Linked DNA regions of Homo sapiens: all the other regions are linked to region 1. Evidence: promoter capture Hi-C in 16 types of primary human blood cells and fetal thymus (Javierre and others, 2016). All regions are on one chromosome and are shown on one strand. Each heading gives the region's core, a stretch centred on a gene start or on the middle of the fragment in contact. The rest is flanking DNA. Distances are from core to core; before and after follow the strand shown. Region 1 holds the start of SETD3 (SET domain containing 3, actin N3(tau)-histidine methyltransferase). Region 2 overlaps AK7 (adenylate kinase 7). Region 3 overlaps AK7 (adenylate kinase 7).

What was found. The method cuts DNA at HindIII sites, captures the fragments that hold promoters and counts their contacts. A CHiCAGO score of 5 or more calls a contact.
Region 2: a contact is called between a fragment that was not itself captured here and the fragment with the promoter of SETD3 in region 1, in 1 of 17 cell types (naive CD4 T cells). The highest score is 6.7, in naive CD4 T cells.
Region 3: a contact is called between a fragment that was not itself captured here and the fragment with the promoter of SETD3 in region 1, in 10 of 17 cell types (neutrophils, non-activated CD4 T cells, naive CD4 T cells and 7 more). The highest score is 13.4, in neutrophils.

The regions. Positions count from the first base shown.
Region 1 is chr14:99,479,273-99,482,944 of GRCh38, reverse strand. It overlaps SETD3 (SET domain containing 3, actin N3(tau)-histidine methyltransferase), which reads left to right and starts at 2,086. Exons shown (of 13, transcript NM_032233.3): 1 at 2,086-2,217. CCNK (cyclin K) reads right to left here and starts at 1,536. Exons shown (of 11, transcript NM_001099402.2): 1 at 1,466-1,536. RefSeq lists enhancers at 1,276-1,645, 2,454-2,955 and silencers at 1,836-2,295, 2,406-2,605. The HindIII fragment of the contact is 7,554 bases long and covers 1-3,672 here.
Region 2 is chr14:96,476,683-96,480,378 of GRCh38, reverse strand. It overlaps AK7 (adenylate kinase 7), which reads right to left. Exons shown (of 18, transcript NM_152327.5): 15 at 1,717-1,914. Among named protein-coding and RNA genes, the nearest start is that of PAPOLA-DT, 24 kb to the left of the region's middle. The HindIII fragment of the contact is 1,371 bases long and covers 1,669-3,039 here.
Region 3 is chr14:96,397,516-96,401,308 of GRCh38, reverse strand. It overlaps AK7 (adenylate kinase 7), which reads right to left. Exons shown (of 18, transcript NM_152327.5): 2 at 3,046-3,234. Among named protein-coding and RNA genes, the nearest start is that of AK7, 7.3 kb to the right of the region's middle. The HindIII fragment of the contact is 3,151 bases long and covers 1-3,145 here.

The DNA.
Region 1 (3,672 bases), core at 837-3,336:
TAATTCCTCTAGATTTTTTTGTCCTTATCCAATTTTAAAGAAAACAAGCAGAAAACACTGTCCTCCCTTTCAGACACTCAGCAGAGTCACTGCTTTCAAATATAATGTCCTGAAATGAACTAGCCCATTTTATAGGCCACAGCTATGACCAATTTTTCTTTATGACATTCAATTTTAGAAACAGCATTTAAAATTTAAGAACCTCATTAACAACTCGAATAGTTTTTATTGCTTGTTAGTGCAAACTACATTTTCAAAATGGAACAAATTTAAACAGGATTTGCCCAGAAATCAACTAATATGCTTGAATAATGCATCACAATATAATCGAAATGAGATAAAAGAGGGAAAAAAACCCTAAAAGACACCAGCGGTGGTCACTCTGAATAAGACAATCTTGGATAATTATTATATTCATAGTCAAGATTATTTAACAGGTAAGCATCCTAAGGGCACTTTAATCCAAATGTCTATCAATACTACTACCACTACCATCATCCATCCATTCTTTCATTCAGCAATACAGAGGGCTTATTAAACGTCAGGCAGTGTTCTAGGCGCTGAAAGCTCCTCGCTTTCATTCTAGCAACATCATTCATACAAACCTTTAGCGGGCACCTACAACTGCAAGGCATTGTGCTAGGTATCTGTAAACAGCGATTTAGATCGAGATACACAAACATCACCAAGTTTCTCTTAAAAACACAGAAGACCACCCTTAAGAAATGCTCTTAGAAATAGTTCCTAACCTCAGATGACTTAGCGAAAGCTCCGTTTAACTGGCAGTCTAAATTTAGGGAGCATTACCGAGCCTATCTTGGGCAGACAATCGTTTAGGAGCTGTCACATAACCTCTAGACTTACGCTCCAATTTTCTAAAGAACAATTTCTCTCATAACAAACCAAATCAACCACCAGGAGCGGGTCCGTAAAGACGATGTCTGGGCAAGAACGAAATCTAATCCCGGAAGTGCCTTTTCCTCATCTTAGCCGCACCCTCGTTACGTGGCTCTCCAAAACTCCAAAGTCGGAGTACCCTAGACATGGAACAACCTCCAAAAAGTTTCAGGCCTAGCCAAGGTTGGGACTAATACGCCGCGAAATAATCGGGGAGATATGAGAAGTCTGTGGCTGTGAGACTGTGCGCGGTTAACACCGCTGCCCCTTTTGCCCAACCCCTAGAAAGTTCCCCAACTCTGACTGCCCCCCAGTGCGAGGGCCGCTACCAGTTCTAGGGTGAGTCCGGCCTCCCTGCCCCGCCCCGGCGCCTCAGACCCTCTCTACACGCCCGCCCCACAACCCCGCGTCGCCCGCAAAGTTCAATGTGTACCGGAGGTTAGCGGAGGGAGGCAGAATCCGGAAAGAGAGACTCCGCCAGTGGATAGCGGCGGTTGGCCATAACCTACTCCGACCTCCAGATACGCGGGAGGTGGGCGGCGCTGCCCTCAGTCGGTGGGTCACTCACCCCTCGCTTCAGGCAAGCCCCTCAGCGACGTCTCTCCTTGCCGACTGCGGCCATCTTGTATATGGAATGTCGGGGACCTACGTCATCACGCTGCGTCCTGAGACGCCACCAAGCGACCGGAGGGGCGGAGAGAGTAGGATGCCTGTCAACCAATGGGAAGAAAGCAGAGCTCTCAAAAGAGGAACGAGCCGCCGCTCTCCTCCCCGCCCGCCCCGCGGGTCAGTGGCTGCTGCTTACAGAGGGAGGAGCCAGCCACAGGGCCCATCCCGTCGGTCCCGCCCCTCGGGGCGAAAAGGCATTCTGGAGCAACCGAACCTGCTAACGGAACTTGGGCGCGTAGGCGGGGCCCGGGTCGAGATTCGTCCAATCAAAGCTCTGGCGGGGGCGAACGCAGCCAGTTGCGACATCGTGGTTGGCGGCGGCTGAGCCGGCCGCTCTTGCCCCCGGGAGCTGCCAGCCCACTGGCTGGGGAGGACCCCGAACGGAACGCCGGCTGGGTGGCGGGGCGGGGCCGCGCCCATGCGTCCGAAGCGTGGGCCAATGAACGGCGGCGGCTGCGGCCCGGGGGCGGGGTCCGGGGCGGGAGGAGAAGCGTTGGGCCGCGGTCGCGGGGCCGTCTCAGGCTGCCGTCCCGCCCCTCCCGTCCGGCCGCCGCCGCCGCCACCGCCGCCACCGCCTGGGGGTTGGTTGAGGCGGACGGCGGGGTCCGGGCCGGAGTACGTCGTTCCCGCTGCGCTAGGGGAAGCGGGCAGGTGAGTGCTGGCGGCGGTCTCTGCGCCCGCGCGGCCCGCGGGGGAAACTCGCGCCGCGTCTCCGAGCTCTGCGAGGCCGTCCCTCGCCCTGGCCAGCGCCCCTCGGCCGAAGTCCGGCCCGCGCCCCCGCCAGGGTCCCCGCCGGCCGCTGTGGCCCCGGGGCTTGAAGGGGCAGGTGTGCGCTCGGGGGCCAGGGCGAGGAGGGCCCGGCGGGGTCGGAGGGCGCCGGTCGGCCTCTGCCCGGGCGCCCTGCGGGGCGAGAGGCGCGCGCTCGCCGCTGCCCTGTCCCCTCTGGCGCCCACGCTCCCGGGCCCCGCGCCACCCGGTCTCGAGGTGGTGCCAGGTGCAGGCAGCGCTCTCCCCGAGCTTGCCCCGCTGTCCCCGGCCCTCGCGCCTGCTCTCGGGTGGGGCCCGGGCCCCTCGCGCTAGTCGGCTCGGCTCTGCGCGCGGCCGGGTCGCGCTCCCATTTCCTTCCTTCCTCCCGTCACCCCGCTGCTCGGGGAAGGCTGTGCGGTTTTATGTTCCTCTCTGCGAGTTCTCGGTGCCCACCAGGGTGCCCGGGGACCAGCCCCCGCCTCCTCCCGCGCCGTCCAGTTAGGAAGACGGACGTAGGAAATAGGTCGTCTTTCTTCCCACGCGCCCCTGGCCGTGCTCCACACGCGCAGTGCCCTACTAGGGAGAGGCAATTCGGTGCTTTAGAGTTTGTCATTCCGGCGTTAACTCTTCCTCCTCGTGGCTCCAGCCCGGCGATGCAACTCTTGTCTTTTCCCGGTCTCCACTTGGGAAAAGGAGCTGACAGTGACGCGCGCCCCTGGCTGCGGGGCTCACCCCTGCCCGGCCGGTGTTGGGAGGAGGGCATTTCAGTGTTGCAAAGGCATTCGCGGGTTAGGACCACTCGGACCGTGTTATTTTGCTTTTCTAAATAAATAAGGTGATGTTTCAAAAGCAAAAATACTTTTAAAGTATGCTGACAAATCAATTTTGCTTTTAAGAATCCTCGAAGAGTTACCCCATCTTCGTAGCCTGATTGTGGTGCTGATGAGGCCACTATAAATGCGTTTGTCAGAACTCAGAACCGGACACTGAAAAGTGTGAATTTTATCTTATGTAAAATATACCTCTCCCTCTCCCGTTTTTCTTCTTGAAATGACCTTGCCAGTATTTCAAAACTGAACTAACCAGTAATAATCTCGGAGAAGTGTTTATTATTTTAAGCGAATACATTTAACCCAAGAATATAGCAAAATAAAGCAGTCTTCCTCTCCACTGTTAAAATTTGCCAAGACTTGCTTGAACCTTGCTGTATGTACTGTGTTTATACGGGCTACCATGCGTGAAAGTCCAGCAGTACTGGATTAGTCCCAAGGGCTGCCGTGATTGATACTTTGGTGAAATTCCAACAGTTTACCGAGGAGTTTTTCTTCGGCCTAAGAAAGTAGTTTGCAAAGCCAAGTT
Region 2 (3,696 bases), core at 1,105-3,604, 3.0 Mb after region 1:
TTCACTGCAATCTCTGCCTCCTGGGTTCAAATGATTCTCCTGCCTCAGCCTCCTGGGTAGCTGGGATTACAGGTGCACACCACCACGCCCAGCTAATTTGTGTATTTTTAGTAGAGATGGGGTTTCACCATGTTGGCCATGCTGGTCTTGAACTCCTGACCTCAGATGATCCACCCACCTTGGTCTTCCAATGTGTAGGGATTACAGGCGTGAGGCACTGCACCCAGTCATTTTTTTATTTCATAATAGTATGTCATGTTATGCCTTAGTGTTGGTAGGAATAACAAAATGACCACTTGTTGAACTCCTTCAATGTGCCAGGCACTTCGTATCTCTCATCTCTACCGTTTGTAACAATCCTGCAAGCCTGATTATTTTCCTATTTCACAGATGAGAAAACTGAGGCCCAGCCACAATTGGAATTAGCTCTCCTGCCTCCTGCTGACATTATCCCTTAGCACTAAGCCTCCCGATACTCCAGGGCTCAAATGCTGTCCCATTGGGCAGTTGGGGGTAGAGAGCAGCCCCTGGAGGCCCAAGGTGTGGGCCTGGCCAGGAAGCTTCCACCAGGCAGAAGCTGGTTCTTTCTCACCAAGCCCATAGGAGGAATACGTGCGAAGGTCCAGAAAACCAGAAAGGTAGGTCAGGGGTTCAACAAGCCAAGGGAAGTAGCAGCAGCTGTGAAAGCTGAGAACTGGAGCCAGGAATGATAATGGTGACGATGAGGCTGACGTGATGCGGGATCATGAGTGCTTGCTGTGTGCTAAGCTCAGAGCTGTGTTTACAGGAAACAAGAAGGAACGCAGTGAAGAGCTATTTGCTCTTCTGGGTAGCTACGGGGATGGGCTGGCCAGTCAGAAGGCTGGGAAAGGGTCTGGAAGAGCACCAGTGCCCAATAATTTAACAGGGACAGAACACTGCTCCCAAGGAACCTGGGGGAATGGCCCAAGCAGCCAGCACCATACACACATTTCTTTAAAAAAAAAAAAAAAAGAGTTTGTCGGCCAGGCACGGTGGCTCACACCTATAATCCCAGTACTTTGGGAGGCCGAGGCGGGCAGATCACGAGGTCAGGAGATCGAGACCATCCTGGCTAACACAGTGAAACCCCGTCTCTACTAAAAATACAAAAAAATTAGCCGGGCACTGTGGTGTGCACCTGTAGTCCCAGCTACTCGGGAGGCTGAGGCAGGAGAATGGCGTGAACCCGGGAGGCGGAGTTTGCAGTGAGCCGAGATGGTGCCACTGCACTCCAGCCTGGGCAATAGAGCAAGACTCCATCTCAAAAAAAAAGAAAAAAAAATTAATCAGGCCTGGTGGCATGTGCCTGTAGTTCCAGCTACTTGGGAGGCTGAGGCAGGAGAATTGCTTGAACCCGGGAAGCAGAGGTTGCAGTGAGCCAAGATTGCACCACTGCACTCCAGCTTGGGCAACTGAGCGAGACTCCATCCCCCCACAAAAAAAAAAAAAAGGATTTGTCATTTGACTTCACAATATATCCATAAATTCTCATACGATAATAACACCCTCCCACCACCAAATCCCCACATAGAATGACTCCCCAGGAGGAGTGCCCTGTGTATTTCATGGCTTCCTGTGCCCCAACCCATGATTACACTCCCCACCCTCCCCCCAGCCCCACAATTACAGCTAGACCTGCACCAAGCTTTGCTGGGGGTCCTGGACATTCACATTATCCTTGAATTCATTTCATACCAATATGTATCGGGTGAATTTCAAGTTCATCAAAATAGTTGAAGACAGTCTCATCGTCGATATTGATGTCCCGGTAGTTGCTCAGAGCCCGGAGGAATCGGTCTTGGCTGTAGTGGGTCCCCGCCACGATGCTCTCAGGAAGGTTTATCACACGCTCCTTCAGAAACTCATCCGAAGCATCCAGTGCACAAACGAATTCTGGGGAGAAGGACAGACTCCAGAGTTGGCACAATACAGCGCAGCTAACTAGCAGGGTGCTGGAGAACGCATGGCCCCCTGGTTACCAGCCAAGACCTCCTGTTGCCACAAATAGCCTGTCCAATTGGCTTTGCTGCCTCTCATGGAGGATAAATAGATGAAAATCACCCCATTTCCAGAGACCACCCTATGAGGCCCAATTAGTATTTTGTGCAATCTATTATTTTCCCTTTCTTCCCCCCTCCCTCTCTTCCTTCCTTCCTCCCTCCCTTCCCCCGCCCTCCCTCTGTCCTTCCTTCCTTCCTTCCTCCCTTTCTAACTAATAAAAGCAGCAGAAATCATAAGTAGCAAATCTCAGATAACCCTGTGATATCAGCTTCCTAGTTAATTTTCACATTGTCTCTTTTCTCTTTTTTAAAAAATACATACTTATATGTATGTATATTTATTTTAGAGAGATACAAGGTCTTACTATGTGCGGGCTGATCTCAAATTCTTGCCTTAAGCAATCCTCCCGCTTTGGCCTCCCAAAGTGCTGGCAGGGATAAGCCACGGCTCCTGGCCTCACGCTGCCTCCTATCCAGCACAATTATCACAGGCTTCCAAAGAGAGCTATGGCTACAAGCAAAATGCTTTGATGGCCAGTTTGCCAAATTAATAAAATGGGAACTCCCCTTGGAATTTTCATGGATCCAGCTCTTTCATCAATGCCATTGGCTATGAAACACTTACGTACAACATGTTATGGTCAGCACTTATCAAATTCAACACACAGATCATGTTAATAATGATGACCATTTTACCCATCTGTGATTTTCTTTTAAACTGTGAAAGCAGCTGTTCCTCCAGCTTCTAGTACAAATTCAATAGATAATTGTTGAGTGAATGAGAGATTTAAGTGTGGATCAGTGAAATAAACTTTCCAAGGTGAGTTGTGATTCTTAGATGTTCTCAACTACAGGAGCAGGGTATACTGGTGCCCAGATCAGTGTCTGGGTGCATCACAAATAGCTTGCTATCTATTAGAGCTCAACAGAACTTGGGAATGATTTGATTTTTGTTCTAAAATTGTATTGGCTTATAACATCATAATGCCATTCTCGTTTACTTGCATTCTAATAAGCTTCCTTGAGTGGGTGAAAAAGGTAAGTGTAATGGGGAAAGCCCACAGGAGGTGTGTCCCCGAGGCATGTGGACATGTGTGAACATCATCTGCTGCAGATGTTAACTGTGAAAACAAAGGCTGAGACAGCGTGTGGAATAAGATCCTATAAATTCATAATAGTTTGATACTACCTCCATTCTGCATACAAGAGGTGTTTTCGCAAGTAAGTTGTTCCTATTTTTTGCTCATCTTTTACCATTTGATTGTCATGATTTTCATGAGTGGCTGCCTTTTGAAAAGGAAGGTAGACATATGAAGCCTCAAATGCTGGTACGGTACTGAAATCAAAAGGATGTCAACAGATTCGCTGAAAATTGAATCCATTTAAGCTCTATGATGTCGGACATCTATATGAAAACTTATTTTCTTTTTAGATTTTTCCCTAACATGATACTCATTTGTTAGAAAATGTATGAACTATGTTAATAATCTATGAATTTCAAAAATATATTCTATCTTTCTTCCAGGCTGATCAGGAGGTGGAAGATTCCAGTTAATCAAATAATGAGTAACATCCTTGGCTTTCCAATTTTCAAAGATTTTTAATATGATAAAATATACTTCTCACTAGATGATTTTTAAAAAAATGTTCATTCTCTTTATGACTCAGAGAACTT
Region 3 (3,793 bases), core at 321-2,820, 3.1 Mb after region 1:
GCCTGTCTCTCTAGATAAGACTGAGAATTCCTTAGGTGCCCCTTTCAGAGAGCCTTGGGTGATGCTCTGTGCATGCCTCTGTCCCCACATCTACTGTCACAGAGTCCCTGCCAAGCCGTGAGCTCCACGTTCATCTGTGGATCATTAGGGTGCACAGGAAACATTCGCAGAATCAAATTCAGGTGAGTAGTGAGAGATGCTGGAGATCAGGACTAAGGCACATGGCTATGAGAATGGAAAGGAGGGGCTGACTGGACACCTGACAGAGAGGTGTGCTGAGGACCCCGTGACCAATAGGATTCAGGAGTCAAGGGCAAGGGAAGAGCCCACAGCTCTCTGAGGTTTTCAGCTTTGATGGAAGGCGAGTGCATAATGAACGGGATAAAAGACACTATTCGTTGTCTACAAACTTACATTTCCTCTTCCTTTTCTCCAACAGAACCCCAATTTTGCTTCAGATACTCCTCAGCCTGCGGGAAATTAACTCCCTCTTCTGGCTTAAAGGATGAGCCTAATTGATCTAAGGGTAAGTGACTGGCTCAGGAAAGGGACAATGATTCCATTCACGACAGTGAGACTCAAAGAGATGCTTGCCAGGGACTGCTGGCAATGTCCATCGTCCTTTCTCTGAGACCTTCTGGAAGTTTGCTTTGCCAGAGCGTCACTGTGTATGAACTAAGGCCCTGGACTGTTGCAGCCTTACTGCCAGCCTGAAGATAAAGTCATCCCTCAAGGAGGGCAGAGCCCAGGAAGGGGCAGGAAGAGGAGCTGGAGCCTGTGGATCAGCTCTGAAGCCGGTTCCACTTCTGGGCCACTAGCTACATAAGCTGATGAATTTCCTTATTTATTAAGCCAGTTTGGGTCACCTCTGTTTTCTATTACATGCGGTCCAACACAGCCCCAATTGATAGAGATAGCAAGGTCTTTAATAAAAATCAGTAGTACAAAGTCATACAAAGAGTGGTTTTGGGCCGGGCGTGGTGGCTCAGGCCTGTAATCCCAGCACTTTGGGAGGCCAAGGTGGGCAGATCATCTAAGACCAGAAGTTCAAGACCAGCCTGGACAACTTAGTGAAACCATGTATCCACTAAAGATACAAAAAATTAGCTGGGTGTGGTGGCACGCGCTTGTAGTCCCAGCTACTCGGGAGGCTGAGGCAGGAGAATCGCTTGAACCCAGGAGGCGAAGGTTGCAGTAAGCCGAGATCGCGCCACTGCACTTCAGTCTGGGCAACAGAGTGAGACTCCATCTCAAAAAAAAAAAAAAAAAAAAAAAAAAGATTGTTTTTGTAGCGGGGTCTAATAAATATGATTTTGGATATGTTGATTCAGCAATGCCTGCAGGACAACCGGGGACTGGTCTAGGAGGCAGTCGGATTTGGAGGCTGCAGACAGGCAAAAAAAGCACTGGCTATATGGGGAGCTGAAGCTATAGGGTTGGATAAGATTTAGGAAGGTCATCTGTTGTAGGAAGGGAGTGAGCTCTGGGGAAAACCGCATTTAAAGGGTAAAAGAGGAAAAGGAGCCAGAGAAAGAAGCTGGGAAGGAGGACTTGGGCGCTTAGTCAGTGCAGAGCCGAGGCACAAGAAGGGAAGGCGAGTTTCTCTCGGGAAGCCAGGCTGCTGCTGTGAAGCCAGGTGAGCTAAGCCCCTCGGGAGTCAGGGGACTGCTGGTGACATCGGCCAGGGCACCTCCTGTGAAGTGTTGTGGGCAGGGCCAGCCAGCATTGGATAGACCAGTGAATGGCGGGGGTGAAGGGGTGAGACCTGCAAATGCGGCTGGTCTCCTGAAGTTCAGTGGTGGCAGGGGCCGGGGCAGAGAAAGAGGCTGGTGGCCAGCAGGGAGGCCAAGTTAAGTGTTTTTTACAGCAGGAATGATTTGAGCATATGTGTAGGTATAGAGGAAGAAGCCAGTGGCAAGAAGAGAGAGAAGGGAGGTGAATGGGAAAGAATACCCGGAAGACAGGGGAAGGAGGTGAATGGGAAGGTCCCAAAGATGTCTGGAGGGGATGCATTCGTCCATTCCACAAGTGTTTATTGAGGCCACTTTGTGGCAGTGGCTGTGTTAGGTGCCACAGATACATGGATAAACACAGGGATAAACAAGTCACGGTCTCCACCCTCAAGGAGCTGACAGTCAGTGTCCATGGACCCCCACGATAGACAGGTGATAACAACGAGTGTGAAAAGCACTATGATCTAGGCAGGCAAAGGATGATATGGGAGCTCAGAAAAGAGCTCAGAATCCAAACTGGGAGTGAGGGAGAAGTAGGAATCATGAACGGCTTCCTGGAGGAAGAGACACAACTCTTGAAGGATGAATAAAAAAAAAAAGAGAGAAGGCCACTCCAGGGTACAGCATGTGGAAAGCTGTATGGTAGGCTCCAGAGAGTAGCAGGCAGGGTAAGGGAGGAGTTGGCCCAGGAGAAGAAGAGGGCCACTTCTTCTCAGACATTTAAATGTCTCAGGACTAGGACTGTGTTGAATTTGTCACGTGGAGACAGCATTGTTTCTGGAGACAGCAGTGGTATATTATTCCTGAGTGGTGCATTACCAAAGGATGTTTCTCTTAAAAAATTATTTTCATAAATATAAGAGACAGGATCTTGCTATGTTGCCCAGGCTGGTCTCGAACCCCTGGCCTTAAGCGATCCTCCCTCCTCAGCCTCCCAAAGTGCTGGGATTACAGGCGTAAGCCACCGCGCCTGGCCTATTTCTCCTTCACAGATGGCACCCATCATGGCACAGACTCGTCTTGGATAATGCAAGGCAGAATATGCTGAAGAGGAGAACTGTATGAGTCTGAAAGTCCAACTTAGATCCATCCTTTCCAACACTATCTAATTTAAACTCTTTGCTTTGGCCGAAAATTAAAAGTGGGGTCTGTGAGGTAAATCTCCATTACAGGAGAAAGCCATTCCCTCAACCTGGCCATGTCTGTGGAAGAGAGGGGAGGGGAGGCAAACAGTAAAACAAGTTGTCAAGGCGTTGGAGCGGAAGGTGACTCTTCCCTCTGTCTACTCCTGGCCAGAGCCTCCGGGACTTACAGAGTACGTCTCCACCGCAAAGTCAGGCCGCGGGCTGTCAGGCTTGGACAGCGTGCCCACAATCTGGAATGTGCCTTCCTTCACTTTGGTTGAGGAAGCTTCCAGCATAGCTGACTTATTTTCATCTTCCTCTTCCTCTTCCTCTGTAATTTCTTCAAGCGAAGCCCCAACTACACAGTTAGATAGAAACTGCAAGGAAACAGAAATTTCCCAAATGGTAAGAGAAAATTAGAGTCAGGGGGCCAGTGAATGATGATTCTAGAAACTTACCTTTCCCGAGTGCTTGCTGGGTGCCACCAAGGCAAAGCAAATGCTTTGCACACTGTCATCTCATTTAAGTTGATTGCATTCCTGGAGGAGTGGGTACTGTTATAATTCCCCATTTTACAGATGAGGAACTCAGGGTCAGAGAGCTTAATTAACTTGTTTCCGGATACTGCACTCCTCTAGCAGCAGGCAGAGCTGGGTCACAGTGATGATGTTTGTGTTGTCCAACAGAAATATAGAAATGTAATAGGAGCCACATAGGTTATTTTATTTTATTGTTAAAGATGTGGTCTTGCTATGTTGCCTAGGCTGGTTTCAAACTCCTGGGGTCCTCCTGCCTCAGCCTCCTGAGTAGCTGGGACTACAGGCACTTATGTAGTTTTAAATTTTCTAGTAGCAACATTTTAAAGAGTGAAAACAAAGGGTAAAATTAATTTAAATGCTGTGAGGTTGGGCGCAGTGGCTCATGCCTGTAATCCCA